4 separate regions of the Homo sapiens genome follow, and all the other regions are linked to region 1. The links are contacts of gene promoters, found by promoter capture Hi-C in blood cells and fetal thymus (Javierre and others, 2016). All regions are on one chromosome and are shown on one strand. Each heading gives the region's core, a stretch centred on a gene start or on the middle of the fragment in contact. The rest is flanking DNA. Distances are from core to core; before and after follow the strand shown. Region 1 holds the start of ERC2 (ELKS/RAB6-interacting/CAST family member 2). Region 2 overlaps IL17RD (interleukin 17 receptor D). Region 3 overlaps SPATA12 (spermatogenesis associated 12). Region 4 has its middle 41 kb from the start of SPATA12.

Evidence for each region. Contacts are between HindIII fragments. The CHiCAGO score rates a contact against its expected background, and 5 or more counts as called.
Region 2: a fragment that was not itself captured here is called in contact with the fragment with the promoter of ERC2 in region 1 in 1 of 17 cell types (total CD4 T cells); the score reaches 6.2 in total CD4 T cells.
Region 3: a contact is called between a fragment that was not itself captured here and the fragment with the promoter of ERC2 in region 1, in 1 of 17 cell types (total CD4 T cells). The highest score is 7.6, in total CD4 T cells.
Region 4: a fragment that was not itself captured here is called in contact with the fragment with the promoter of ERC2 in region 1 in 1 of 17 cell types (non-activated CD4 T cells); the score reaches 6.0 in non-activated CD4 T cells.

The regions. Positions count from the first base shown.
Region 1 is chr3:56,464,596-56,472,354 of GRCh38, reverse strand. ERC2 (ELKS/RAB6-interacting/CAST family member 2) reads left to right here and starts at 3,888. Exons shown (of 18, transcript NM_015576.3): 1 at 3,888-4,107. RefSeq lists an enhancer at 4,940-5,234. The HindIII fragment of the contact is 8,117 bases long and covers 3,148-7,759 here.
Region 2 is chr3:57,092,854-57,100,612 of GRCh38, reverse strand. It overlaps IL17RD (interleukin 17 receptor D), which reads left to right. Exons shown (of 13, transcript NM_017563.5): 12 at 2,075-3,017; 13 at 4,108-7,759. The coding sequence ends at 4,220. Among named protein-coding and RNA genes, the nearest start is that of SPATA12, 36 kb to the right of the region's middle. RefSeq lists an enhancer at 2,198-3,397. The HindIII fragment of the contact is 3,437 bases long and covers 1,321-4,757 here.
Region 3 is chr3:57,071,765-57,079,523 of GRCh38, reverse strand. SPATA12 (spermatogenesis associated 12) reads right to left here. Exons shown (of 2, transcript NM_181727.2): 2 at 4,092-6,158. The coding sequence starts at 5,829. The coding sequence ends at 5,257. It also overlaps a transcript of ARHGEF3 not described here. Among named protein-coding and RNA genes, the nearest start is that of SPATA12, 15 kb to the right of the region's middle. RefSeq lists silencers at 172-241, 722-861. The HindIII fragment of the contact is 2,681 bases long and covers 3,633-6,313 here.
Region 4 is chr3:57,015,940-57,023,698 of GRCh38, reverse strand. It overlaps a transcript of ARHGEF3 not described here. Among named protein-coding and RNA genes, the nearest start is that of SPATA12, 41 kb to the left of the region's middle. The HindIII fragment of the contact is 1,054 bases long and covers 3,107-4,160 here.

The sequences.
Region 1 (7,759 bases), core at 2,639-5,138:
TTACCTCGTTTGTTCTGGAGTCAGACTTCTTGGGTTAGAATTTCAGCCCTGCGATGACTTAGCTGTGTGGCCCTGGTAAATTACCTTACCTAGAGGTGCCTCAGTGCCTTTGTTGGTAAAATAGGTGTAATAATGGTATATTTTAGGTCAATTGCGAGGAATAAGTCAGTTAATGCACACAAAGAGCTTAGAACAGGGCCTCGCACATAGTACTGATTTTGTCTAATTGGTATTTGTTCTTTGTTGCTGTTACTATATTCAAAATGAATGCAAAAAACCCAAAGAAACAAAAACAAAACCAACACAGGTTGTTGTTTTATGACCCTGCATCATTGTGCAAGAAGAACAGTTGTTTCCAACCTGTGCTCAGTTCCAAGGCCACTTGGCTCTCATATTCCCACACTGGCAGGCTTGTGAGGGTTGACAATCATAGGAAAACTGATTGGGCATTACGGTGCTTTTATATATAGTCATGCTTTTTCACTGTAGAGCTTAACTTTTTCTATTTGGTTCAAAAAATATGTACGGGTACAGAGTTTTTCTTTTGCTTCAGGGTTTGATATGGCTTGGCTCAGCCCCAAGTAAAGCTGATAGAACTGGCTGATGGTGTAAACGTGTGGTATAAGCAAAAGGAAGAATTAATGATACTCCTAGGTTTGGACCTGAGCAACAGGATGATTGGTGATGTCATTATCCTGATGGGTGACCTTGGGAGAGAGGAGACTTGGTGCATAAAAATCAAGTTTGAGATACTGGTGGGTTAAATACTCACACTGGGGAAGTCAAATAAGCAGGTAGATATCCAAGGCCTTTAGGTCTTTAGAAATCTCATTTCTGTCTACATGGCTGGCTGTTCTCCTCTTTACAGACCAACTTCCTTGGCAAGGATCTTAGAACTTACTTCCTGATGACTTTGGCATCATGGTTTTTGGTGCCATTGTTCTAATTTGGGCCACCACAGTCTACAATCTCACCATTCAATGCCAGCTGACTGACTCATTCTTCAAGCTCAGTTTGAAATACTGGAAGGAGAGCCTGTCATGGCTCATCCAGGGGCAGGTGTCCACCACAGCTCCCATCTATGATAGCTGCCACTCCAGGCTGAGCACACCATAGGGCAGCAAAGTTGGATGTGGCAGCAAATTTGACATTTCCTCAGGAAAACTTTTTCTGAACCCCAGGGGAACAGTTGGTTATCCTTCCTGCATGTTCCTGCAGTTCCCAGAACTTTGTCCCTTCATAGGCAGTATTGTTATTGCCTGCTTCTTGTCTGTCTCCATCACTAAACTGTACAGTCCTTGAGGCAGGGGCTCTGAACCCACAGGACCTAGGAGAAAGTAGATGCTCAATAAGTATTTGTTGAATGAATGAATGAATATGTGAGAAAAAAATATCTGCCATGAAAGTATGCTCTCTCTGACTTGCTTGAAAAGAGCTTGTGAAGATGAAGAAAGACATCAATAACTGTCAAAACAATACAAACCAAACCAAACCACCACGACAACAAAAAACCCTGGAGCAACAGACCATGTTTTAGAAAATATAATATGTTTTAGAATTTTCTGTCCTGAAGGGTTAGATCTCACAATGGCTACTTGTTAGCATATTGCGAGGGTGTGTTTGTTTGTGTGTGTGTGTGTTTGTGTATGTATTTGTGTACCTATACACACATATATGTGTATTTTAACCTAAAGTTAGAAAATGTTAGAGTTGAGAGCAATCTTAAGATTCTTTAGTTCCGCTTTTTATTTTCAGAAAACTAAGTCCCAGAGAGGATAAAGATGACTTGCTTAAGATTCCTATAACTTCCACTCTTCGTTTTACTATGTAGAGTCACTTTCTATTTAAAGTAATTATTCTTAACTTTTCTGGGTCAAGGACCCAATTTGAAAGAAATCTGTTGAGAACCATGAATCTTCTCTCTGTGGGAAAAATGTACATAAGCATGTACATAATAAATTGATCCCCTGAATGTCAAGGGTTCCTTTTAAAACCCACGGATCAAAGGAAAAGAGAATGGGTGGCCAACCAGAGTGAACCTCAGGCATTGATTTAAATAAATTCTTCATGGGATCACCCTGGTATGTTACCCAACTTTTCTGAAAGTTGGTAAACATCTTATAGAATATTTGTGAGAATAGTTGAGAAAATGTAAGTGCCTGCACAGAGGGGGGTACTAAAAAATGTTGGCCACGTTTCAAAAGATGTGGGATTTTAGGAATTCTCAAAGGACTCTCAACAAGGCTCTCATATACAACAAGCCTTTTGAGCAGAGGCTGTCAAGGATGTATGTGGGGAACAAAACACAATAGGTGGAGCTTGGTTTTGCCCCTGGAGCATCTAGGTCAGGAGAATGAGTGTTGATTTCTCAGAGAGAGAAAGAAGAGGATGAGGGCAAAGAGAGTCTATGAAAAACCTTAGCTACCAGAGGTGTACAGGCTTAAGGAACAGGCATTTGGGCTGGAACAGGAAGGCATCCTTGTCTCTCAGAGTCTGATTCCCTGAGCAGGAATCATTTAATATTTGAATTCCGGCGGGGCGCGGTGGCTCACGCCTGTAACGCCAGCACTTTGAGAAGCTTGAGGTCAGCGGATCATTTGAGGTCAGGAGTTCAAGACCAGCCTGGCCAAGATGGTGAAATCCCGTCTGTACTAAAAATACAAAAATTAGCTGGGCGTGGTGATGGACTCCTGTAATCCCAGCTGCTCAGGTGGCTGAAGCAGGGAATTGCTTGAACCCAGGAGGCAGAGGTTGCAGTGAGCTGAGATGGCACCACTGCACTCCAGCCTGGGAGAAAGAGCAAGACTCTGTCTCCAAAAAAAAAAAAAAAAAAATTGAATTCCTATCGGGGAGGAAAGAAGGATCCATCCTCTAATCGCTGTACTAATTCTATGCCTCTGCGCACCCAAACATCCCATGGCTGGATTTGCTTTATTTGTCTGAGCTTCCCAGCAGGAGAAATTTAGATCTGGCCACTGAAATTGCTGGAAGCAGACTCATCAGGACAGGAAGGAAATGACTGCTCTATCCCTGCAAATTGACTACTCAGTGAAAGAGACCAAGTTTAAAGATGCCCATGGCTATCCCAGTACCCTCCCTAATATAAAATGGCAGCAGCTGGGGCTCCAGACTTGTTGAGTGGAAGCTTTTTCCAATGAAAAACTTGTCCAAATCCTCTTGCTCATTACCTTGAGGTGTGTGTGTGTATCTGCCTGTGTGCGCGCGTATCAACTCAGACATCATCTTTCTACCTTAAATTGGGACAATGCAAGCACATTTCAGGGCACAGAAGAGGCACCCAGTGAATATGACGGATGCGATCTTTTCTCTTGTTCCTGTCTTTATCTTTCATTCTGTCCTTTCTTTGGGGGAACAATAAAGTGAAGATCTTATGAAATTCTTTCAACCTCCTAAGGAACATTAAAGCTGATGGACGGTGCCAGGGTATGGTAACCACGACCCCTTACTCCAATGCTTAACTTAAAAGATAAGTGCCATCCCTGCCCCTGTCACCAAAGCCACCTGACAAGTTCCCAGTGTGCCTGGCAGCTTTTGGAGGGGGGTACCCGGGAAGGGGCGTCGGGGATGGAAGATTGGGGACAGGTGCTTCGCGCCGCGGCCTGCCGGGAGGAGGCGCTGCGAAGACCCCCGCCCATGCCGGGCGCTTTCTGCTGCCCCCAGCGGAGGCGCCCGGGCCCCAGCCCCGTCCCCCCTAGCGGCTCCTCGGGAATGCTGGGAATGTGAGTCAGGGCCTCTGCGAGCGGGCGAGCGTGCCGGCCGGCCGGGTGGGGGCCCCGCCGAGCGCAGCGCCTGGCAGCGCCGCGCGAGCGCGCGTCTCGGGACTGCGGCGGGTGCCGCCCCCTCGGCCGCCGGCCCCGCCCGGCCCCGCGCCTGGCCCTGGCCCTCCGAGCAGTGTCCTCCTCCTTCCCTTCTTTCCTCCCTCCCTGTTCCCCGCCCCGCTTCTCCTCCTCTTCCTCCGCCTCCCGCTCCTGCTCGCTCGGTCTCCGGCTCCGGCGCCGGCTCCTGCTCCTCCTGGCCGCCCGGGGCCAAGGCGACGAGAGGTTGTAAAAATCCATGTGGGACGGCCCCGGGGCGAGCATCGGAAAGGTGAGACGCCGACGCCGGGGCCGGGGCCGCCTGGTGCCCGGCTCCCTCGGGGCGCCCGTGCCCGGGCATTCCTCGTGCCGGGTCCCCCTCGCTCGTGGGGAGCTGCAATGCGTTATCGTGGGGAGCCTAAGGGTGAACCATCCGCCTCCTACGGGGCTTTCTTGGGCGGGGGGAGGGATGGGGCGGCCTAAGGGAGGCTTTGCCCTGATGTATAAACCCCCGGATTGGAACAAGTGCACGGTTTCCTCCAGCGCGCGGGCGCCGCTCGCTAGCCCCGGCTGCCCGGGCCACCTCCCGCAGTCCCTCTCCGGCAGCCACCCTCACTGCCATCGCCTTTCTTCTCTCAGATCCCCCTCTTCTGCCTGGCGTCCCCTCTTGCCTCGAGGGGTGGGGTGTTCGCGGGGTCGGGGGTCTTGAGCAATCCTAAGCAGAACAAAGTGGAGAAAGGTGGAGCCCCCGCCCGGGGGTGGGGTGGCTGGCCGCCTGGGTGGGTTCAGAGGGGAGCATATTTTTTTTTAAAAAACCCGTGTCAGGGAAAATGAAGCCGATTTATCGGGGAGGGCTAGGGGATGGTGTATGAAAAGGAATACGATGTGAAATTGAACTGAACGGCATCCCTTCTCTCCTCCTCCCCATCTCCTAATTATACAAAAAAAGGGATACTTACGAAGGTGTACCTAATTAAAAAAAATACCGTACGAGCCTTTGAAAGATCGTCTTAGGACAGTGAAGATTAAGAGCTGCTTTGGTTCGGGGTAATAAAATAGCGCTCGTAAACTCTCCGTTCGGCCCTGCCTTATTTATTTTGTACTTAAGGGTCTCTGTTCTCCTTGCCAGAGAGGGAGGGTCCGCTCTTTTAGGAGTGGATCGATTTTAGGCGGCTACCTGCCTTTGCTGTATGAAAGGCAATTTACTCCCCGAGCGGTGAATTGTCGGTTCCCTCTGTGATTGACAGCCACACCTGCCACTTACGTGGGTAGAATGGGGACCGGTGGAACCCAAAGAACCAATCAATGCTCGGGAGAGGAGGGCAGCTCCCACTTGTCATGGTTAGTTTCCTGGTTGGCTCTTTAAATCAGTGATTTTACTTAACCATTGGTTTCCACCTGGTATGGGGATACAGCTGTGAGAGGCAGACAAGCGGGAAGAAAACTCTTTGAAAATGGACTTTTAGAAGCAAGTATATTTGACCTGTGTTTCCTTGTCCTCCCCATCCCTTACCCACCACCCCCCTGATTATTAGTTGTAGTAGTTGCGGATGCCGAGGCCACTGGCTTAAAAATGAAAATGAATCTGTGTAAAGAAGGAATTGGGGGAGGGGGTGTTAGAATTGCCCACCTATTTCTCCAGAATTGCAGTCTTTATAAGAGACAACATGTACCGTTGAGCTATCCGGGAAAAGGGTGTGGCACTTTGTCTCCTATGGTCACTCTTGTCCTTGTAAAGTCACATTGTTTCTCAGTATACAGTACTTGGGGCTTGGCTCTACTGGATGGATTTATAAGGTATTTTTGGAGCCGGCAAACGTTCTTTATGGGGAGTCACATGAATAGAAGGGATTCTTTTAGTTCTGACAGTTAACTCAACTTCTGGAAGTGAGGGCTGCCTTGTTCTCTTTTGCAGAATGTCAGTTCGGTGGTGGTGGGGTCAAGCCATTTTCTTTCCGGGGAGTAGTAGAGTTTGCCTTTTTCTCATGTAAGCCATCTTGTCTGTTTGCTTCTGTGCTTTAATAAAATACTTTTACAGTTTTGGCAGGGAGGGGTGTGGAAGGTGATGGTGTCATGGTTTTCACCAGCAAGACTTTCACGGGTGGATGAATCATGGGTGAAGGACCAGATCCATCTCAACTCACTACTAGTGAAAGCCTGATTTTTCAACACCCTTCTCCCTGAATTCATTAGAAAAATTACTGATTGATCCAAAGAGCTGTCACTTTATAGAAGTTGTACCTGGATGTGAACATAATTCTGTGAATTAAGCCTTTCATAAACAGACTGTGAGCCAGAATATACTGATTAGAATGGTTTTCATGTAGAAGCCGGGTTTGTCAAAGCAGTATTATTACTATTACTATCATCATCATTGTTATTGCATAGGCAAGCACTTTGTTGAGTACTTTATATGCATTATCTTTTTTAAACCTTGTGGAGCCCCTGTGAGGTAGGTACTATTCTTACGCCCAAATTATAGATGAGTAACTAGAAGGAATTCAGTATCTTGCCACAGTTTAGTATGAAAGCAAGAACCTGAGCCCGGGTTCGTCTTACCCAGAGCCCATGACCTTGGCCGTGGCCTTGACTTCAAATTTTGGTTGTGTAGTCTGCATGTGTCCAGTCTGAAGTGTGGGTTCTCCCAGCATACGTAGAGCTAACCATTTTAAGAGTCCACTGTGATTCTGACAGTCCTTTTATCAGCCTGTTTTGCCTTTGCATTTGAAGGCTGTGGCATGGGCCAATAGGCAAATTTAGTAACTCTGTTTATTATATATTTCCAGTAGAAACATAATAAAATATAAAAAATATAACACATAATAAAATAAAAATTTTGGCTCGATAAAAATTTGGTTCCAAACTTAATGATGATGACTTAAAAGAAGGTAAAACAAAACAAAATTCACACTCTTCCATTTTTCTTGACACCTTAAATTTCCAATTAGAGTTTTAAATAGATCTTGGTTGAATAAATGCTCTTAACATCCTTCAGTTGTCTCCCCACCAAGGGATTAGGGTTTTATTTTCTTTGTTATTTACAGAGACCCTTTTCCATTAGTGATTAGGTATAATGATATTTAAAATTATTCTTTTGTAATAGCATGACCGTCTTGTTTTATTTTATTTTTTATTGTTTTTTGAAATGGAGTCTTGCTCTGTCACCAGGCTGGAGTGCAGTGGCGTGATCTTGGCTCACTGCAATCTCTGCCTCCCGGGTTCAAGTGATTCTCCTGCCTCAGCCTCCCAAGTAGCTGGGATTACAGGTGCCCGCCACCATGCCTCTCTAATTTTTGTATTTTTAGTACAGACTGGGTTTCACCATGTTGGCCAGGCTGGTCTTGAACTCCTGACCTCAGGTGATCCTCCTGCCTTGGCCTCCCAAAGTGCTGGCATTACAGGTGTGAACCACCATGACCGGCCCCTCTTGTTTTGTTATGTTGGAAAAGCTACAAGATGTAAGCCTTATCAGTCTCTTCCCATTGGTGAAACTCAGTGGTGAAGGTTTGCCAAAACAGGTATCCTGAAAAATAAGGTGAATGGTATTGCAGTCCACAAATTTACCTAAAGAGTCTTTGACTTTGGTTAGGTTGACTTTTGTACAATCTGCATTTGCTTGTTTTACTAGGACACCCTCTAGCCTTTTTTTTTTTCTTTTTTCTTTTTTTAAAATCCTCTAACCAGTTAACATTTTGGCTGGTCCGTGGGGCATCTACTTGCCAGCCAACAGTTTCAGTTTCAGCAATGTTTACACTATTCCTTTATATTTTATTGTGATTTTCTTAGTTTAGAAAGATAGGATGAATGGAAAGCACAGAAAAGCACCAATATTCATGGTAATGTAGATCTCATAAATTTAAAATAGTTGATCCAAAGGTAGAACTCACTGGATGTACAAAACATGGAGACTCTACAACCTCTTCTTCTTATGTGAAGAAAAGGAA
Region 2 (7,759 bases), core at 1,790-4,289, 630 kb before region 1:
GATGCAGGAGACGGCACTGGCCAGAGAGAACAGGGAGGTAGGAAGGGAGCACTCCCAGAAAACAATATTTTGTCAAGCACTGAAATGATCTGCTCTGGTTTCTTAGCTGTTCTCTTGAGTTATTAATATCTTATTAATATGCTTTTCTATAATGTCAGAATGTACATTTTTAGAGTGAAGTCTGAAACTCTCATGCAAGACATACCCTGTTTCTTGAAAATGCAAGAACTGTACAATAACTGTGTGATTGGAAGTTGTTTTTGCTTTGAAACTGCCCATTGGCATGTTTTTCAGAATCTCTCCATGTGGTGAGGCTGCCCCCTAGTGTCAACATAACATACTACGCTAGCCTAGTTTCCCTCTGCATGAAAGCGTGAGGTTGGTGGATCAGCACGTGCTGAAAAATAACTACACTCTAGCCAATGGCACACAGTTTTCAGATACCACGGGCAACCAAGTTTGCTCTACTTCACAAGTATTTAGCCTCTGGGGAAAACGCTCTTCCAGTTATTAGTGTAATAGTTATTGTAGAAAATTTGGAACTAGAAAAGGATGATAAATAAAACATTGTCTGGAATCCCAAACTGATTAAGGAAAATCTTAGAAAGAGGAACTCATATTTCATGTGTGGTTTATTTCCTTCCAGTCTTTTTCCATATAGGTGAACTCACACGTACAGTTTTGCCTTTGGGGCTGATTGAAATGATTTTTTGCAGTCTCTTAATAATTTTTTACACTATTAGTAGTTATATGTCAACTGCAATTTTAAATAGCTACATGATCCTCCATATTGATTTGCCATAACTGAGTTAATACAAATATTAAACATCTCAGTGGTTCAATATTGTCCCATTTGTGATGATTTCCCAAGAAAGATGCCTGGAAATGGAATTGCTGGGTCAAAGATAGAAACATTTAAAAAATGCTTGGTATATACTCCCACTGAGCTTTTAGCATGTGTAATGTTAACAAGAATTAAGGAAAGTATAAGACAATTCAGGGTTATTTTCAGCAAGTGGATGGATGTTGGGGCTTTTTCCCCATTGGTAACATCTTAGAGCAGAAGAGGAGAACAAAGTCGTTTCAGAATGCCCTTCCCTGTAAGATAGTGTGGCTGCTGTGTTTCGTCATAGCCATTGGGAATTAATAACTACAGAAGGAAAGACATCAACACAATAACCAAGAGATGTTTCTGGTAGAATTAGGTAAAAGTGGTCTGAGAAGGTGAAGTCCTCTAAGGGGCCACACATGTCTGATTTTTCTCTCCTTTGTCAGCCACGCCCACAGTCTCTCTACCAGACCGCCTTTGGGGGTAAAGCTTTGTCAATTACCAGCCTTGTAGAGATGTAGCCTTGTATACCTGTGTGAAGCCATAGAGGAAGGTGCTAGCCAGTCCTGAGTGAGTTACTCAGAATGACCATGTTAATGCAGTTCACTAGCCTCCTCTCCAGCCATGGACCAACTAGTAAACAACATAGGTGAGCCTGAGGCTATGAGAGTGTCGAGATAGGTCCCCTTTGTCAGTCACTGTCTGGATGTGAGTCACCTATAATTGTGGGTGACTGGCATCCAGGCCTGAGCCCCATCTCCCAGCTCACTTTGGAGTCACTCATCCACATCCTCCTCTCAGAGCCTGCCAGCCTTCTCTCCAGAATCTGCCCCTCCAATCTAGGCACCTCACTCACCAGATCAACCAACCTCAGTTTCTCTGTCCTGTGCTCTCTACCACCTGTTGCTTCCTTGAGGATATCCTATGTAGGGTGTGACTTGGGCAAGGTGCCAAAAGCACTGCGCTTCTGTCCCCTCACTTGTAGGGCAGGAGTGGTAATGACTCCATGTGATACAAAAATGGATGGATGGCAAGTTTTTGCAGAGGGACTAGGGTGTGACCATCACCCACGGAACTTTAGCTGTTCCTTGGTATGGTGTAACCTGGAGCCTGCACATAGCTGTGCTAATAAGGGTTAAGGGGCAGATGAGATGGCCTCCTTCTGACATTTCCCTTCCTGTTACTCACTTCCCGAGCCTCTTCCCGAGCCTTCTGTATGGGTGAGGTGCCTTGTTCTCTTTCCAGGTGGCTCTGGACCTGTGGGAAGACTTCAGCCTCTGTAGAGAAGGGCAGAGAGAATGGGTCATCCAGAAGATCCACGAGTCCCAGTTCATCATTGTGGTTTGTTCCAAAGGTATGAAGTACTTTGTGGACAAGAAGAACTACAAACACAAAGGAGGTGGCCGAGGCTCGGGGAAAGGAGAGCTCTTCCTGGTGGCGGTGTCAGCCATTGCCGAAAAGCTCCGCCAGGCCAAGCAGAGTTCGTCCGCGGCGCTCAGCAAGTTTATCGCCGTCTACTTTGATTATTCCTGCGAGGGAGACGTCCCCGGTATCCTAGACCTGAGTACCAAGTACAGACTCATGGACAATCTTCCTCAGCTCTGTTCCCACTTGCACTCCCGAGACCACGGCCTCCAGGAGCCGGGGCAGCACACGCGACAGGGCAGCAGAAGGAACTACTTCCGGAGCAAGTCAGGCCGGTCCCTATACGTCGCCATTTGCAACATGCACCAGTTTATTGACGAGGAGCCCGACTGGTTCGAAAAGCAGTTCGTTCCCTTCCATCCTCCTCCACTGCGCTACCGGGAGCCAGTCTTGGAGAAATTTGATTCGGGCTTGGTTTTAAATGATGTCATGTGCAAACCAGGGCCTGAGAGTGACTTCTGCCTAAAGGTAGAGGCGGCTGTTCTTGGGGCAACCGGACCAGCCGACTCCCAGCACGAGAGTCAGCATGGGGGCCTGGACCAAGACGGGGAGGCCCGGCCTGCCCTTGACGGTAGCGCCGCCCTGCAACCCCTGCTGCACACGGTGAAAGCCGGCAGCCCCTCGGACATGCCGCGGGACTCAGGCATCTATGACTCGTCTGTGCCCTCATCCGAGCTGTCTCTGCCACTGATGGAAGGACTCTCGACGGACCAGACAGAAACGTCTTCCCTGACGGAGAGCGTGTCCTCCTCTTCAGGCCTGGGTAAGGTGCCTTTGGGGCCGGGTCCTAACAGGCCGCAGCCTTTGACCATGCTTCTGAAATCAGTCAAAGCGTTTTTCCACTTTTGGTGCCAACTTATTGGGCAATGAAACCTGATGAGAACACAGCTCGTTTGGTAGTCTTGATTTATACCAGGTGATGGGAGTACTCACATGTTTGAGTTGCAGAAATACTAATGCTAAATTATAGTGAGCTGCCCAGACCCTGCAAGGGGTGTTGTGCCACATACAGACTATGCACTGTATCACTTTTCTAAACTCCAAAAACATCAGACACGAAAACACATTGGGCCCCAAGGGTCTTGGGTAACAGTTTGTGGATGCGTCTTTTTTAGACCTGTAATGTTCACACCCCCCGCCCCCATTGTCTTTAAAGCTACATTCATTGAGTCTGGGATTCATGGGTACAGTATTCTTTCTATCCTTCAGCATAGGGTCCCAGGTATGAGGGCTCTCTAGGAAGGCCTACTTCTGCAGGGAGCATCAGGTAGATGCCATCTCAGGCTGTCCCTTACCATGTCTGTAACTAGTTGGAGTCATGCATACAAACCCTTGACTTTTTTTTTTTTTTTTTGAGATGGAGTCTCACCCTGTCGCCCAGGCTGCAATGGCATGATCTCAGCTCACTGCAACCTCTGCCTCCTGGGTTCAAGCGATTCTTCTGCCCAGCCTCCCGAATAGCTGGGATTACAAGCATGCGCCACCATGCCCAGCTAAATTTTTGTATCTTTAGTAGAGATTGGGTTTCACCATGTTGGCCAGGCTGGTCTCAAACTCCTGACCTCAAGTGATCCCTCAACCTCGGCCTCCCAAAGTGCTGGGATTACAGGCGTGAGCCACTGCGCCCGGCCTAAACGCTTGACTTTTAAGAAATATCTCTTCCTTCCTCAACTAAGGGAACTAGAACCTGTTAGGAGGATGAGAGTGCCCCATCTTGAGTTGGTTGGGATTCTTGCCTCGTTTATACAGAGCCCATAGTCCAAACCCAGATCCAGTCACATTCTGCCATGAGCACCTGCCCAGCCCAGTGAAATGCAATGACAGTGTGACTCTGTACTCTCTTCTCTCCTTAGGTGAGGAGGAACCTCCTGCCCTTCCTTCCAAGCTCCTCTCTTCTGGGTCATGCAAAGCAGATCTTGGTTGCCGCAGCTACACTGATGAACTCCACGCGGTCGCCCCTTTGTAACAAAACGAAAGAGTCTAAGCATTGCCACTTTAGCTGCTGCCTCCCTCTGATTCCCCAGCTCATCTCCCTGGTTGCATGGCCCACTTGGAGCTGAGGTCTCATACAAGGATATTTGGAGTGAAATGCTGGCCAGTACTTGTTCTCCCTTGCCCCAACCCTTTACCGGATATCTTGACAAACTCTCCAATTTTCTAAAATGATATGGAGCTCTGAAAGGCATGTCCATAAGGTCTGACAACAGCTTGCCAAATTTGGTTAGTCCTTGGATCAGAGCCTGTTGTGGGAGGTAGGGAGGAAATATGTAAAGAAAAACAGGAAGATACCTGCACTAATCATTCAGACTTCATTGAGCTCTGCAAACTTTGCCTGTTTGCTATTGGCTACCTTGATTTGAAATGCTTTGTGAAAAAAGGCACTTTTAACATCATAGCCACAGAAATCAAGTGCCAGTCTATCTGGAATCCATGTTGTATTGCAGATAATGTTCTCATTTATTTTTGATGTAGAATTTACATTGCCATGGGTGTTAAATAAGCTTTGAGTCAAAAGTCAAGAAAGTGACTGAATATACAGTCACCTTTTATGAAATGAGTCTCTGTGTTACTGGGTGGCATGACTGATTGAGGTGAAGCTCACGGGGCCAGGCTGACCGTCTTGACCGTTCCACTTGAGATAGGTTGGTCATCGTGCAGAAGGCCCCAGGACCTCAGCACACACAGCCTCCTCTTGGTCTGAGTAGGCATCATGTGGGGGCCAGATCTGCCTGCTGTTTCCATGGGTTACATTTACTGTGCTGTATCTCAGATGTTGGTGTCTGGAAGTTTATTCTTAAGAGACTGCTACCCAGCTGGTCTGTATTATTGGAAGTTGCAGTTCGTGCTTTGGTTGGCCTTCTGGTCTAAAGCTGTGTCCTGAATATTAGGGATCACAATTCACTGAAATACAGCAGTGTGTGGAGGTGATGGCCAGTTAATCTGCTGAACTGGTTTTGACTAATGACAAACCTCTTTTTAAGATGGTAGAATGGAGGTGATAGTCACAAAAGTAAATGTTCCATTTTTATGAATGACTTTCTACAGAGTTTCTATTTCTAAAGAAAAAACAATTGTTCACATCCCATCTGATGATTAGCATGTGTGTAATGAATGCTGTCTTGGTCTCCCCTGTGGAAACCCTTCTCCCTGTGCCTTAGAGCAGGTGTGTACATCTCTCACTACCTTTCTCATGGGTGCTGTTAGATTTTGGCACCCGTTTTCTCAGCATTCAGCCCAGGGAATGTGGTTTTCACTTCTTCGTCAGATAAGACCAACATGAAGGGGTATGTTGAGAAACATCCTGAGGCAAGGTGGGAGGTGGGATGGGGCAGGACTTTCCCTTCCAAGCACATGCATGGCAGGTGGGGAAAGGGGGGCTTGCACCCCTGCTGGAAAGAAAAGGTTTGTGTATATTTCTGATGCAAATGTCATACTCACTGCTCTGTAAAGGCAGCTGGCAGCTTTTTGGGAAAAGAACGTGCTCGTCTGTTCTCTGGCATCAAGTTTCTTGCAGCTGCTCTGAGGGAGAGACAGTGAGCTGCAAGACTGCCTCCCCATAACAACAGGCAACTCAGAGAAGAGTCATTTTATGTTGTTCCTATGGAATCTGGAATGAGTGCAGAGCTCCTACCCACACATGACTGCCCCGCCATTTCATCCTAGGCATTCTGTGAAGGAGATTGGTTAGTCCAAACTTGCTAACATACGAAAATTCACTTGGAACATGATGAGAGATTTCTTATTGAGGCCAAGAGATGTTTCCTGTCCCAGAGGAACCATTAGGAGTCGCTTTTAGGGTATTCAGCTTTGTTCATGAAATAAGGCATCTCTGAGAAAGTGGCCCCAGGGAGAGAATGGAGGACTGGGAGGAGAAGCATTAACTGAGCTCCAAGGGTGTGTGGGCAGAGAGCTTGCTATGTGAACTCACTCCTTAAGAAAATGGAAGAGAAAAAGAGAGTGCTAGTTAAAAAATCGGGATGTTTTAGTTTGGATTTAGGGTTTTGATACTTATGTTGAAATACTAATGTTTCTGATCAATAAAATCAAACTCTTAATATACCGAGTAATGAAACCATAGTGTGATTGCCTCAGAATAAATTGAGAAGTCCAACTTCCTAGTTTTGTTTAATTAGTTTCACTTTTTCTACTCTCCCCAGTATGCTAGAAATGGGAATCGTTGCCCTGCAGATTACGGCAAAACATCTGTTTTAAGCAAAGCTGCATTTTTTGACTCAGAAATTGTCCCAGACGGTGGATATAAGATGAAATTCAGAAAAACGTTCTGCCAAGTCACAGGCTTTTAGATATTATGGAAACAAGAAATGGAAAACAGGATGATCTCCATGAGAGGCCTTGATCCTGAGAGTAAAAGGCTTGTGTAGATAGGTTAGACAACGTCCTCTAGAAAAGAGACCAGGGATAAGTCCAGGTTTCCAGGAAAACCAAGAAGCCTGCGGGTAGCTGAAGGTAGAGTGCTAGTTGTTCATCTTAACTTACCAATGAGCTACAGAAAGGACTTAGCATCTGATGTCATCAGCTTTGCCAGGAGAGTGATCAAGGAGGTTAAAGCTCAGGTAAAGGTGTGCCTTCTCAGAGATTGGCTACAAGCAACAGAGACCACCTCAACAGAGACCACCTCAACAGACTCAGCCCAGCCATACAAGGTGCCAAAGCTCCTCCAGAGGGCTGTCTTGGGCCTTTGAGGCAATTGATCTCCAGAAAGAGTCAGAAGTCATTCCAGTCCAGGCCCAGGTATTCAGATGGTGACCCAGCCAGATAATAGTATCTTGAGCAAATAATAGTATCTTGAGTGCAAATAAGCAGGAAGACTGTCCTTCAAAAAATGTGGGGTTACATGATTTTCAGAGCCTTTTTTTCAGAGTTGAGCATCTTTTCTTTTAAAAGAAATAAGGGGCAAGAGGACCAATTTTATTCCTTGAGGAAAAATGACACACCCTTCTCCCAAAAGAAAGAAAACTCTCTGGCCCCCCAACTTCAACACTAATTTGGCTCCCTGAAGAAGAGAGAAAATATTATTTCTGTCTTTATTGAAGAGAAATGGGCAATGCCAATGTGAAGGTTACTAGTCTTTTTTATTTTCTATTGGTGAAGACTACTACTGCTCTTATTTAGCAGATCTTATACCTTCAGTGGTCACCAGTATAGCAGGTGAGGTATAAGGAAAACAGCAGTGTGATGATAAATGGTAATTAATATACTTTGTCTGTGTCAGCAATAGGGAATGGTGGGGACTGTGGCAAACTGAAGCGCCCCTGTTCCACCCACAGTGGGTAATTTTCCAGTCGACTGTGGCCATGAAGTACTTCCTGATCTTCCCATTTTTCAAGAAAAGCTGACAATCTGGATTTTTATATGAAAAATTCTGATTTTAAAAAATATTGGCAACTAAGTTAAAATTCAAGTGAATTTAGACCCAGCAGAAGACATGGATGGACCTGATTTGGTCCACTGACTACCAGTTTGTTAACCTGTGCTTTATAAGAT
Region 3 (7,759 bases), core at 3,724-6,223, 610 kb before region 1:
AGGTGGCGGCGGGGGAGGGATGTCCTGGGGCCTCCGCTCTCCTCTTTCTAGCCTCCCTGTAGACCTAGGCCGTGCATGGGGAGCTGGGGTGTCGAGCGGTGGCCGGGCGTGGCCACGTCCAAGTCCTGCGTCGCCCGGCTCCGGCGCCCGCGGGGGTCCCCGGCCCGCCTCCCGCCCACGTGGCCGGCCCGGCCTCCCCGCCCCCGGCCCCGCCCAGCCCAGGGGAGCCGCCGCCGCAGCCGCCGCCGCCGCGGTGAGTTTTCCAGCCTGGAGAGGCCGAACCAGCGCGGGGGTCGAGGTGAGTGCGGGAAGCAGTCGGGAAACCCGCTCCCGCGCTAGACCCTCCCCGGCTAGACACCCCTTTGGCGGGACACCCCCGCTAGGTCTCCCGGAGTGAGACCGTCTTCCGGTCTAGTCCCTCCTTTGCCCTGGTCCCCGAGCTGGACCCCCACTCCCACCTCCGAGTTACCCTGCTAGGTCTCGGCGTCCCCGGCGGGCCCTGAGCGCTCCCTGGTCTGGGGTATGCCCAGCGCACGGGGGCGCACTGGGCGCAGCGCAGGTGGGCAGTGCCACCGCCAGCCTCGACTAGCCGTCGCTCCTGCTGGGGACCCTGACTCTGTTCCCCGGGTAGCCCCTTGAGCGAAAATTCCCGGAGCCACTTCCGGGGAGGGAGGTGCCACCTGTCCTGGGACGCGCCCCTTTCGCTCAACTTTCTTCTCCAGCCCCGCGGGGCACCCGCAGGTCAGCGTCGCGTCGGGCGCTGCTGGTGGCGGCTCACAGGGCCGCGGGTCACTTCGCGGCGGGGGAGCCGGGCTCAGGGCGCTCCGGGCGGCGGGCGCCGTCCCAGCCTGCCTGAGGCCCTTGTCCCGGCGGCTGCATCTTGTAAACCGAGCAGCCAGAAAATCCCGAGATAGGACACCAGGGTGGAGGACGCCAAGGGGTTAAGGTCAGCGTGGGTGCCTCGCAGCCAGAGACGGGTGAGCGTTTTCTGAGGCTGGAAGCTGATTGAGCCGAGTGGAAACGGGTTCCCTTGGGCTTTGCGGTGGTGGAGAGCTGCTCTTGCACTATCAGCAGCCCCATCACGGGCTTGAATGTTGCGGAAACAGAGCGCCTTGTTCTTAGAGGACTCGGCTTGCTGGATTTATTGCCTGGCCCAGGCTTGCTTCCCGCACTGGGCGAGGACGCGAGAACTGCCAGACGGTAGTTGCCCTGAATGTACCGGTAGAAACTTATTTTTAAGCGTTCCATGCACTACCCAGGTATAACCACTTTCTTCCCTGGGGTGTGGAGAAGGGGAGCTTTGCTAGGTCTTTGTCTTAGCTGTGTAGTCCTAGGCAAGTTACTTCGCTTACCTATGCCTCAGTTTTCTCATCTGTAAAGTGGGGATGATAACAGTACAAACCTTAAAGAGTTGTATAGGGATAAAGTGCTTAAAATACTGACTGGGGCAGGGTAAATCCTCTGTGTTAGCTGCTCTTGTGATTATTATCACTGACATCTAACAGCGCGTGCACAGCCCTAGCTTCTCAATGAGGTGGGTGTGCAGGCAGTTGCTCCTTCCCCTTATTCTGGTAAGGAGCTGGTGGTGCTTACACAGTAGCCATGGTGTTCCCTTCCGCACTGGGAAATTTGAGCTTTGCTGTAACACCTCCTATGGCTAACTAGCCTTGTGCAAAGTATATCTCAGAATGTGGGATTAGAGATGAACTTTGTCAAGGACACTGTTGGGAAATGGGGTCTTGGACCTTCTCTGGAAGCTCTGGGGTGTGATTGAATGTTTGCCTCTTGGTTGGGGGGAGGGTGGGTAGATTTCACTTGATTCTTTTAAGCCTTGGGTCTCCTGACAGTCTGACATTGTCTAGTCTCTGTGAGTGTGGGAGTCTATTTAAGGGTCCAGGGACCTGATCTTGTCACCTTCTCCCACATTCATTCATTTCTAGCAGATTGCCCCCTCCATCTGTAGAGTTTTCCTGGTCTGCACCCATTTGGTATCTTTCTTCTTGGCAATTTAGTTTCTGTCTTCTGAATCTCCACAGATAAGAGCTCTGAACCTGGAGCCCCACTGAACGTCCTGAAATCTACACGAGGCACTTGAAGCACAGTTATTTTTCCAGAGGTTTCCCCTTACATTGTATTTTCCATGAGGCCTGTGCCCCAGAAAAGTGGACTCTGAACTTCTGGTAGGAAAGTGGAGGTTCTTGCCCCGTTACATCTCAATTCCCTACAAACTGGGGGCTGCCCTTTGTGCCCCCTCCCAGAACACACTTTTCAGTGGGCAATACAGGTCAGCCTTGACTTGGTCAATTAGGGGAAAGAGAGGCAGGCTGTGAGGTTAGGGACTGTTGGCCTGTGGTGAGACCTTTAGGCTGGGATGCAATTCATGAACATTTGAGTTCAAGTTTTCAGAAGACTTCTCAGGGCCTTTGCACACGCTGTTCCCTCAACCTAGCATCACTTCTTCCATGCCAGGCACTTTCTTGCCATTTTGCTCAGATGTCTCCCCTGTACAGATGGTTTTTCTGACCACTCTGTCCAAAGCAGCCCCTCCCCCATTAGTTTCTATCACACTCTTTCTTGTATTTTATTCATAGAGCTTGCCCGGGATGATCTTATTCATACATTGATTTATAGGTTTATTGTGTGCATCCACCAAGGAGAATGTAGGATTCAAGAGGACAGAGGTGTGTTGTCCTGTTGACTACTGACTCCTGCTCCATGGCATACAGCGGGTGCACAATAACTGTCCTGAGTGAATGAACACCCATTGACTGAAGTGAGGTGAGTCTAGAGAGTAGTGAAATGCAAAGGAACTGGTTGCTTGTCAGGAGCTCAGGGTTGAAAGTGACCATTAATGTAGCATACTTTCACCTCCAGATTAAATCACCTCTGCAACACCTCTTCCTAGTTACTGTTTAACCTAAGCTTGAATCCTCTAGGCACAGGGAACTTGTCATCTCCTGCAATAGCCTGTTCCACTGGAGGAGAGGGGACAGAGAACCATTGGAGGAGAGGGGGCAGAGAACCAGATGTAGTCCCTGTACCACACTGTTGAGGACGAGATGTGGCCTCCTGCATGCTATCATTCTAGTCCTTATGGTCTGCTTCGTGTTCTGACTATCCTGCATTCATCAATATCCATCTCTAAAGTTCTCTGCCATAACTAAGGTCCCTGAGCCCCTGACCAGAACTTAGTATGCTGCCCAGTCATGTCTCACCAGAGGGGGTCTGAGGCAAAGAAGCATGAAGCAGAAAGGCCATTGCCATAGTTTAGTAACCCTTCAAGGCCAAGTTATGTATTGTTCAGGCTCCTGTAACTCATTGGGTTGGAGGTGGGGGTGGGTAGGGGCTGTCTCTCTTTTGTTCTTTTCCTGGATTTTTCTGTATCATTCCTTAATCAATTTATTAAAGCAACCCTAGCTATATTTAAAAGAAAATTAATCCTTGGACCCATTTTCTTAATGGTTTGTACAAATATTCTTTAATTCATATCACTTCGCTTGCACAGGTTGAAAGTCAACTGAAAATAAGTTTTTTAATATATAATTCTAATCTATTGAGTCAGTTTCTTCATGGGATAGTATCAGCATGATGGGTGGAGTGAGGTCTGCTGTGGAGAGGTTTGGTGACAAGCTTTGCTTTCTTCTTTACTTTGATGAAAATTGTTTATTCAGTTATGAAAATGGGTACACATTTCTTTTTCTTTTTTCTTTTTTAGAGATAGGGTCTTGCTTTCTTGCCCAGGCTGGCATGCAGTGGCGTGATCTTGGCTCACTGCAACATCTGCCTCTCAGGCTCAAGCAATCCTCCCACCTCAGCCTCCTGAGTAACTGGGACTATGGGCATGCACCACCATGCCTAGCTAATTTATGTATTTTTTGTAGAGATGGGGTTTCACCATGTTGCCCAGGCTGGTCTTGAATACCTGAGCTCAAGTGATCATCTGCCTTGGCCTCCCAAAGTGCTGGGATTACAGGCATGAGCCACCATGCCGGGCCCATTTTTTTTTTTTTCTTAAAAAAAGAAGAAAAAAAAAGAGGACTGGCAAGACTGTTCCTAATTGAGGTTGTATTTACACATGTCTTAGCCACTTAGCTCATTTATTTCATTTATTCAAAAACATTTAGGGAGAGAGGGCTACTCTGTGCGAGGCATTGCCCTGGTACTGACCACACAGCAGTCAAAGAAACTGACAGCATTCCTCCCTTGTGGAGTTTACATCCCAGTGGTGGAGATGGACAGTAGACAACTAGATCAGTAATAAGATGTGAGGGAGAGTGGCCAGTGTAATGGAGATGAAGCTGGGGAAGGAGATCCAGAGTGATGGGATGGAGGCAGAGCTGGCTTCAGTCAGAGAAGGTCTTTCTGAGGAGATAGCATTGGAGCAGAAACCCAGACAAATGAGGGAGCAGCCTCATGGACAATTGCATGCAACCTCATTCCATGCATATGGAGCCCAATGTTGTGGTCAAACTCCCCAGTGTGGCCAGTCAACTCCTGAGCACTGGACATGGTCTATCTCACTGCAGAAGGGGAGGGAAAATGAGACAATGTAGGCAGAACTCTCCTCCTGCCCTCCAGGTCCTGGCAGGTGGCTGGAGTAAGATCTTGGCGTTGTGTGTTCTGATGGTCAACTAGAAGGCTGGTACCTACATTTACAGGGTGAGACCTGAGCAATGTGTTCTGAAACTGCCACCTGGGGAATGAGCATGAGCCTAGGGGTCATTGCTGGAGTTATAATCCTGCACATTGTAAGACTTGCTCCACTGCACCTACCCTGGCAGTGGACTCCTTCCTCTTCTATGTCATTTGATTACCTCACCTCATCACCTAGTGGCACTTACCCAGAGGGAAAGTAATTACTTAGCAGGCTTTGATAGAAACAATAAAGAGATGAAAATGTATAGGATCGGGGATCAGGAGATGCATGCCTCCCACTCTTTCATTGATTGATCGATTGATTGATCAATTGATGTCATTTAATACAGTGAAGGTTCCCCGGGGGCTAAGAGTATGAGATCTGGATTGTGTGACCTTGTGCCAGTAACTTAACCTTTCTGAATCTTGATTTCTTCATCTGTGATATTGGGGAAGTGTGACAGGGAGGCTTCTTGGAAAAAGTGATATCTAAGAAGATGCAGAAAGGGATGGCTACGAGTCACCCCTGGTGGGGGTGGGGGATGGAAGGGAGGGCATAGCATGTGCAAAGGCCCAGACAAACAGCTGCCAGACTCTCAGATGTTGCAGGATTATTATTGATTACAGATGTGTGTGTATGTGTGTGTTGGAGTATACTGTAGAGAGGGACCTGACAAAGCAGCCCTCAGTAAATGTCAGTTGGTTTGAACGGCTGCACCCTGTGCTACTGGGCTCGGCATCTATATCCTCACACAGTCTCCACAACCATCCTGTGGTCCTCTCATTATCCCCATCTTCCATACCAAGAAATTGAGGTGTAGAGTTATGAATAACTTGCTCACAACTGCCTTGCTGTATCAGGAGAGCTGGAGGTGAAGAGGGTCTTCCCAGAAGATTTATTTGGGATACAGCGATGTCAAGAGAGATGGCTGCTTGTAAATATCTCTGACAGGTCTCACTTTGGCACACATCCCCCTGAAATGTCAGCTCTGGGAGGGCAGAGGCTGCTCCTGGCAGGACACCTGGACCCTGGCATGATGCCAGTGCACAGTGGGGTTTGTTGGGATGTTGGGTGGATGACCCAAGGCCTCTGGGTGGCCATGGAACGAGTCTGGAAGAGTCTAGTGCCTTCATTTCCCAGGTGTCTCCTGACTTTTCTAAGGTGGACCCACAAGTCAGAGCAGAACTGGACATGGGGCCCAAGTCAAAAACAGAATTCTCCAGAAAAGGAGGCTGGGGCACTTGGCCGGAGCCAATCCCTGAGGAGCATGCAGCACTCTTGCAACCTGGCTCTGAGTGCACTGTTCCAATTCACCTTCAGCCACACCCCACCACCAATCATCCCGGGGTGCTCAAACAGAGCCAAACCCCACAGTCACCCAGATACTGCAGAGGTTTTCCCATGTTCACATCTTTGCTTCTGCTGTTTCCACTACTTGGAAGCTCTTTCACGCTTGTCCACTTTCACAGCTTCCCACGCTGCCCAACTCCAGTGGCTTTCTCTCTCTTTCCTTCCCTTTTGGCTAGAAACATAAATAAGAAATCCTGATTATATTCTTATTGAACATAAACGTAAACATATCAGAAGTTGTAGAGTTAAAAGTAATTACAGGTATAATATGCTGAGATATTAAAAAAAAAAGTAAAAAATAAAATTCCACCTTCCCCATCCCAAGCTTGCTTCCAGAGAGAATGTTTGTGATCAACTGGGCATAGATTTCTCTTGCTTTTGTTTACTCACACAGGCATGGGTACCTGTGAGTATCTTTGAAAACCAACATAATGGGCTCATTTTGTATGTATTGCTTACCAACTAATGTTTTTTCTTTTATTTATTTATTTTGAGACAGAGTCTCACTCTGTCACCCAGGCTGGAGTGCACTGGCATGACCTTGGCTCACTGCAACCTCTGCCACCCAGGTTCAAGTGATTCTCCTGCTTCAGCCTCCCGAGTAGCTGGGATTACAGGCGCCTGCCACTGCGCCTTGCTAATTTTTGTATTTTTTAGTAGAGATGGGGTTTCACCATCTTGGCCAGGCTGGTCTTGAACTCCTGACCTCGTGATCCACCCGCCTTGGCCTCCCAAAGTGCTGGGATTACAGGAGTGAGCCACCACGCCTGGCTTGTTTTTATTTATTTTTATTCTTTTTTTTTTTTTTTTTGACAGAGTCTCGTTCTGTTGCCCAGGGTGGTATCTCAGCTCACTGCAACCTCTGCCCCCCGGGTTCACGTGATTCTCATGCCTCAGCCTCCCTAGTAGCTGGGACTACAGGCATGTGCCACCACGCCTGGCTAATTTTTTGTATTTTTAGTAGAGACAGGGTTTTGCCATGTTGCCCAGGCTGGTCTTGAACCCCTGAGCTCAAGCAATCCTCCCACCTCGGCCTCCTGAAGTGCTGGGATTACGGACATGAGCCACCGCACCTGGCCTATTTTTTTTTTTTTAATTCTTTATTTGGCCTGGACAGTGCTAACAACTAATGTTTTCCCATTTAGTTATGTCCAAGAGTGTTTTCTTTGACCGTATACATTTCTCCTCTCTTTTACCTGCCCTGGCTCTTCCATTCCTCAGGGAAGAATATACAAACTTCTGTGGACATATGGTTTTATTTCTCTTGAATATATATCTAGCAGTGGAATTGCTAGGTATATGGTAACTCTTAACATTTTGAGGAACTGCCAAACTGTTTCCAAAGTGGCTGCACTGTTTTAAAATCCCACCAGCAGTGCACGAGGGTTCCAGTTTCTCCACATCTTCATCAACTCTTGTTATTATCCATCTTGTGATTATTGCCATCCTAAGTGGGTATGAAGTGGCATCTCATTGTGACTTTGATTTGCATTTCCCAGATGGCTAATGATGTTGTGCCTTCTTTCATGTGCTTATTGGCCATTTGTGTATCTTCTTTGGAGAAATGTATATTTGGTCTTTTATCTATTTTTAAATTGGATTATATGTCTCTTTATTATTGAGTTGTAAGTGTTCTTTATATATTCTGAGTTCAGTTCCTTATCAGCTATGATTTTAAAGTATTTTTTGCCCATTCTGTGGGTTATTTTTTCACTTTCTTGATGGTGTTCTTTGAAGTGCCAGGTTTTAATTTTGGTGAAGTTCAATTTATCT
Region 4 (7,759 bases), core at 2,384-4,883, 550 kb before region 1:
GGTCCGGACTCCACAGAGATGTGATGTGCCGGAAGCAAAGACAGCATCTCAGTGAGACTGGATCATGTCATATGGCAGGGGCCTGGGAGTCCTCTGGGCTGGGAACACTGGGTCCTCTTGGCCTTGGTAGTAAAGAGCTTAGACTCTGTCCTAAGGGTCCCAAGAGGCCACTGAAGTGTTTTAAATGGCTTCTTAAATCTGATTAAATCTGCATTTTGAGAAAAGATCTCTGGCTAGAGTGGGAAAAAGATTTGGAGGGAAGCAAAACTCAGGGCTAAGTAACCAGCTGGGGGTATTGTAGCCATCCAGGAGAGAGATGATGGAGGTCATAAATACCTGTTGAGAATAAGTGAGTGGATAGCTTGGATAACCAATGGAGAGAGGTGAACTCATGAAAAATATTCGGTGGTAGAATTGAGAGTGGATCTGGGGACTGAACAAATCCATCCATCCACCTATAAAACTAACATCTGTTGAGCCCCTTCTGTGCATCTGGGACTGTGTTTGGGATAGGGATACTGCAGTGAATGAAGCGGATGTGGTGGTCCCTGCCCTGATGGAGCTTACCTTCTGGTGAGAGAGACAGACCATAAACAGATGTGTGAAGTGGCATTAGCTGGTGGTGTATGCTGTGAGGAAAGATAGAGTATGTGATAGGGTGAGCATAAGCAGGTGGAGTTTTACATAGAGACACAGGGAGAGCTTTTTTGAGAGAATAACATTCAACATAGACCTGAATGTTGAGAGAGCAAGCCCTGCAGCCTTCTTGAGGAAAATCATGGCAGGCATCAGGGACAGCATGTGCTAAGGCCCAGGGGCTTAGCTTGGACAAAGAATGGCATTCAGGTCAGTACAGATGTGGGTGATGAGACGGTCATACGTGTGGATCAGCCTGATCAGCCTGCTACTGCGAGTCATGTCTTGAAAGATAGGTCCTCTCTTCCTTTGTTGGCAAAAAACAGGGTCCTCCTAGGCTTCCCCAGGTGACTGGACAGGGCAGTCTCGGGAGATTGGTTCCCAGTCAACAGAGATGGTTGAGCCTAGGCAAAATAAGTGCCTGGTTGGTAGTGTCTATGTTTGGGTACAGCTGTGAGTTTCAAGCATGCCACCAACATTCACACAAGTAGAGAAGAGGAAATGTGGCAGAGCACAAGAAGGAATGTTTTTCTGGAATAATCATTTATGTTAGCTGGATCACCAGCATGTATTCATGCTTCTTTTTTTTTGTATATAGGAAAGCTATTGATTAATAACTTTTTTTTTTGAGACAAAAATGACATTCAGATCAGTACAGATGTGGGTGATGAGATGGTCACACGTGTGGATCAGTCTGATCAGCCCTGCTATTGCGAGTCATGTCTTGAAAGATGGGTCCTCTCTTCCTTTGTTGGCAAAGACAGGGACCTCCTGGGCTTCCCCAGGTGACTGGACAGGGCAGTGTCTGTTACCCAGGCTGGAGTGCAGTGAGGTGATCATAGCTCACTGCAGCCTCAAACTCCTGAGCTCAAGCAATCCCCCTGACTCAGCCTCTAGAGTAGCTAGGACTACAGACACATGCCACCGTGCCCGGCTAAATTTTTAAAATTTTTTTGTAGAAACAAGGTCTCATTGGGTTACCCAGGCTGATCTTGAACTCCTGGACTCAAGCAGTCCTCCTGTCTCAGCCTCTCAAAGCGCTGGGATTGCAGGCTTGAGCCACCATGTCCAGCCAACTTCTTTTATTCATGTTGATTAATATTATCTAGTTTTCCTGTTTGCTCTAATAGTTTTGCAGATCTTATTTTATTATTACTATATTTTTGTAGGGAGGGATTTTTCCAGACATATAATTGTATCATCTGCAAATTAATACAATTTTGTTTTCCCTTCCTTTCTAGTCAGTATGACTTTTTTTGTCTTCTAATTGGATTGGTAAATGCTTCCTGAATAAATTTTTTTTTTTTTTTTGAGATGGCGTCTTCCTCTGTCGCCAGGCTGGAGTGCAGTGGCATGATCTCAGCTCACTGCAACCTCTGCCTCCCGGGCTCAAGTGATTCCCCTGCCTCAGCCTCCCAAGTAGCTGGGGTTACAGGCACGCACCACCATGCCTGGCTAATTTTTTGTATTTTAGTAGAGATGGGGTTTCACCATGTTGGCCAAGATGGTCTCAATCTGACCTCATGATCTGCCTGCCTCGGCCTCCCAAAGTGCTGGGATTACAGGTGTGAGCCACCGCGCCTGGCCGCTTCCTGAATAATGTTAACTAGCGGTGGTATGTAGAGTTCCTCTTGCTTTGTACCCACTTCAGTGGGAGTGCGCTAATGTTTCCCTAGGAGATGTGATGCAGGCTTTCAGTTTGAGCTTTATATCTCTTAAGGAAGTTTCATTCCATTCTTGTTTTGTTAAAAGTTTCTTTTTTCAATCAGGAATATATGTTGGAATTCAACAAGATTGGCATCTAAGGAGACATCTGTTTTTGTTTTTTCTTTTGACTCTGTAATGAGATGAATTATATTGATAGATTTCCTAATGTTGACCCATCCTTTCATTCCTGGGGTGAACCACAGGTGTCTATGTTTGGTTACAGCTGTGCTTTTCAAGCATGGAGCTACTTTCTGTCATTTAAATTAGTACTCCATGAAGATGTACTTGGTTTATCCTGTGGCTTAGAGTAATACTGACAGGATAGCTTTCCTTCTGTTTGAGGCATTGAAGCTAGAGGAAATGAACAAACCATTCATCCATTAGACCAACTTACATTTATTGAATGCTTATTATCTGCAAAATGCTGCTGGGTGTACAGCCACCAGTATCCCTTATAACTAAGAGACTTAGGATTCTATGCAGTGGTTCTGCTAGGAAATGTTATTGCAAGTGACAGAAATGCAGTTCATTCAGGATCAAGCTCCATAGGGAATGTAATGGCCCACAGGAATGGAAGGTCCGACAGTAGATAGCCTCAGGCATGGTGGGATCCAGGGGCTCAGTGTCGATTAGGCCTTGCTGTCACTCTGCCCTTCTCTTGGCTCTGCTTTCTTCTGTGTTGAAATCATTCTCAGGAACGTTTCCTCCCTGTGATACCACCAACTCCAGGCTGGCATTTGACTCCAGCTATGGAGTGAAAGCTTATTCCCACTTGTTCCAGCAGAGCTTCCCGAGTGAACTCAGATTTGTTCACAACGTGGGCTTCGTGCTCTCTCCTGGAACTCTGGAACTCGGGGGTGGAGGATGGAGTCAGCCTCATCTGAACCCATGGATGGAGAGTGAGGGAGGGGTGGTCCCCCAATGGGAAGGCCAGGTGCTGTCACCCACACACAGGGAATTGGATGCTGGGTGGCAGACACCCCAGATGTTCATGCCATCTGGGCCAGCGATCCCCTTTGTGGTCTTCACTGTCCTTTTTCACAAGTGAGAGGGGAGGTGGCAGGGAGCCATGATTCCTGACTCAGCCCCAGGACCCTGCAAATCAGTGACAGCATCAGGATTTTAAGTCCCTACCTGAAGTTTCAGGCTTTATTTGCTCCACTAAATTAGGCATGAAAACCTGAAATCCCAGCCCTTGGGAAGGCCAAGGCAGGTAGATCACTTGAGGTCAGGAGTTTGAGACCAGCCTGACTAACATGGTGAAACTCCGTTTCTACTAAAAATACAAAATTAGCTGGGCGAGGTGGCGCTCGCCTGTAGTCCCAGCTACTTGGGAGGCTGAGGCAGGAGAATCACTTGAACCTGGGAGGTGGAGTTTGCAGTGAGCCGAGATTGCACCATTGTACTCCAGCCTGGGCAACAAGAGTGAAACTCTGTCTCGTTCATAAATCAATCAATCATGAAAATAGATGGAAATAGAGAGTTAAGGCATCATCCGTGCACCTTGAGGGTTGATTATTAAAGAAAAGATTTCCCCAAGCTCACCCTTACCCCCAGCCTCTCAGCCACATATAATAATCCTTCTTGTCAATTCCTTATTGTTCCCTTTTCATAATGAACTTAGAAGGTAGATGCCTTTAAAAAGGTGTCTTGGATGGGATGTTACATACTTAATATAGAGCCTTTATAGTAGCAAAGTTTTAATTTGACAAAATCTTGCCTGATCTGATGTGGCATCTCTTCAAATAGTATTTTTTATTTTAATTTGATTGAGGTGTAAATATATCTGACACACATGCCAACTTAAGGGACAAGCTTTTCTGCATATGTTTACACCTCCTGGGATCAGGTGTAGCACTTGTTCAAGCACTCTGCCCCCATTCCAGCTCCTTTCGAGCCCCCTTTCTTTCCCTCCCCTCCTCATCTCCTCCCTAGGAACACACCGAGGCTGAGAAAGACTGTGACTTTCTTGCCATTGCCTACCTGGGTGCACACACTTGGGTCCAGGGAAAAAATAAGAAACCTGATCCTGAAGAATTGTGCCGGGAAGGGAGGTGGGAAGCGTCCATCCATGGAGGAGAAATGGCCACCTACAGAGCCCTCTGGGAGTGCCCTGGTCTACCTGAGACTCAGGAAGTCCCCCTTGCTCTCTTGTTCCTCTTTTATAAATAAAGAAACCAAGGTCTAGAGAGATAAGTGATTTGTCACAGTTCACCCATCCAGTGATGTAGGCTGGAGGCCAGGAGGATGGTCCTGGTTTATGGGCCAGCTACCCACTGTGGTCCTTGCTACCCAATGAATCCAGGTGGCTTAACATTGGACTCGGTCATTCTCATCCCTCATTTCATGATACTGTTAATTTTTTTTTTTCTGGAAAATCTTGAAATTCTGCGAGAGATGGCATATATAATGGAAAGAATACAGATGCTGGAATCTGACATTCTTGGCTTCAAATTCCTTCTTTGTTTTATGACCTTGGGCAAGGATGTTAACTTCCCTGAAGCTCGATGTCTTCATCTGTAAAAGGAATAATATTAGCACCAACCTCATATTATTGGTTGTGGGGATTAATGAGATGATACATGTCACATGCTCAGCACACTACCTGGCAGATACTGTCTTTAAATGGGAAAAGCCAGGTTGTGACTTTTTTGGTGTGGGGAAGGTGAGACACGACATAAACGTAAAGCATCACAACCTCCCCCAAATGTGAACACTTTAGCATAACTTTAATCATTATAAATTAGTTTATTAATTAATGATAGCATGGTATATTTAAGAACACAGCTCTGGAGCCAGACTGCTCTGGTTCAAATCCTGACTGTACCACTGGCCAGATGTGTGACCTTTTGGAAGTTACTTAAGCTCTCTTTGCTCTGCTTTCCTTGCATGTAAAATGAGGCTAATTATAGGACCTACCTTATAGAGTAGTTCTGAGGATGAAATGAGATAATGCAAACAACACCCTTCCTTAGCCCAGTGCCTTAGTTGATGTGCAGAAAATGTGACATTATTATTACTAACAAATTGATCTATATTCCTTTTTGGCCTTTAAAGTTTTTTTTTTTTTTTTTTTTGTGACAGAGCCTTGCTCTGTCACCCAGGCTGGTGTGCAGGGGTGCCATCTCAGCTCACTGCAGCCTCAGCCTCCCAGGTTCAAGTGATTCTCCTGCCTCAGCCTGCTGAGTAGCTGGGACTACAGGCATATGCCACCACGCCCAGCTAATTTTTCTATTTTTAGTAGAAATGGGGTTTCACCATGTTGGCCAGGCTGGTCTCAAACTCCTGACCTCAACTGATCCACCTGCCTTGGGCTCCCAAAGTGTTGGGATTACAGCGTGAGCCACTGCACCTGGCTTTTAAGCATCTTGAATGAAGTTTTGCCTTGGTTTTCACAGCGTAACTACTGCATGTGCTCTTTGCACTTCACTGAAAGTTTTTTTCCAAGCTCGTTTCTCTTCCTATTCATGTTAGCACTGGGAGCTGGGAGAGAAGACTAACCATTTCCCAGCATCAGGCAGCATCCTTTGGATGTTGTAGAAAGAGGCTGGTTAGCTCTTGGAGAAGCGTGAATGGGCCACTCTCCTGGGTCCAGCCTTTTGTCCACTGGGGACAATGTGTGGCTTTCACAGTGACTCATCCTTGGGCAGCCGTGACGACATCGTGGGAAAGGAGGAACAGAGTTCAATCCAACGTGTGCCAAGGGGGCATCTCTGTCCTTGCAGACGTGGAGCTGGTGGGGGCAGGGAAGGGTTTGTTTCTTCAAGGACCAAGGAGTCAACCCAACTAGCAGAGGGTCAAGTTGAGCAACTGAAAGGATGTGAGAAAACAAAAAGTGCTGGCTTGGTGGGCTCGGCCTTTTTATTTTGAAAAACGCTCCTTTTAGCTCTCAATTGGCCCCTTGAGCTGCAGGGAGCAGTGCCAGTTAACCCACATTTAATTAGAAACTGGGTTAGTGGACATTCTCTTTCTTCCCAGAGCATGTCCTGGGTATTGGAACCTTTCCAGGGACTGGTACAGTAACAGCCATTTACATGGCCCTGGCTTTCTGGGCGCTGGAATCAGCCTTGGGTGAATATACATCCCTACCCTTCCCCCAACCTCTGCTGACTCTCTCCTGATGGAATTTGCCAACTCCACGCATAGAATGCAGACTTTCCCTGGATTTGTCTAAGCCTCAGTCTCCTTGGTTTACCTCTGCTGTTTAGGAAACACTTAATCCTCACCTTTGAGTTTTTATTTTGCTCTTTAGTGGTGACATTGTGTGCATTTCCTTTTGTTTGGTGACTCGTGTGTGTGTGTGTGTGTGTGTGTGTGTGTGTGAGAGAGAGAGAGAGAGAGAGAGAGAGACAGAGAGAAAGCTTTCCTCTCTCTCCCCCACCAGGCCTCACTGTGTCTTGTTTCGGGGACTGAGACCCGGCAGACAGTGACACAGTGACTTCCTTGTCTTCTTGGTTCCCACCAGCTGATGGGCAAGGTCATTTTCAAAGTCCTGACACCTGCTTATCATAACCGCCAGCTGCACTCCACAAAGAAGACCCCTCCCCCACACCAGGGAAAAGGGGATATAAGAATAGACCTGGGGGGGACCAAGAGCAAGAGAGTGAAGGACACTGTGCACCAACTCAGAGGTGTGGGTGGGCATTTGGATTGACAACTGTGCTTAGCACCAGCTGATGTAAATTTTCCATCCTAACGGTAGCTATTTTGAAAAACTCTCCACACATTCGAGAAGTCTTTAAAATAATAAAACATTTGCATGGACATTATGTGATTTGATCTCCTTTTTGTCATTCTTTTTTCTTTTTGAGACGGAGTTTCGCTCTGTTGCCCAGGCTGGAGTGCGGTGGTGCGATCTCAGCTCTCTGGATCCTCCGCCTCCCGGGTTTAAGCAATTCTCTGCCTCAGCCTCCCGAGTAGCTGAGATTATAGGCGCCCACCATCACGCCCAGCTAATTTTTTTTTTTTGTATTTTTAGTAGAGACAGGGTTTCACTATCTTGACCAGGCTGATATTGAACCCCTGACCTCATGATCCTCCCACCGAGGCCTCCCAAAGTGCTGGGATTACTGCGCCTGGCCGTTTTTGTCATTCTTGCAAGCAGCATTACCTTTTAGAAAGCAGTTTCAGTCCACCTGCCTGCGTCTTACCACTTGGATGTGCTGTGATGTCTGAGGCTCTGTATCACGAAATACATAAATTGGATTGGAAGGTGGATTTCAGTAGAGGTCACAAATGGCAGAAAGATAGTTGTGTGATAGTTGTGCATGTTCTTTTCCTTGTGTGGGTGTGAGTGCCACTAGGGTCCTGTAGGGGCATGGTCTGCTCTGTGAACTTCCTGCTGGATATGAGGACGCACCCAGGTGGACCCCTGCCTCTGTGGTCTCTGTCTGCAAGATTCGGCCATCTGGGGATT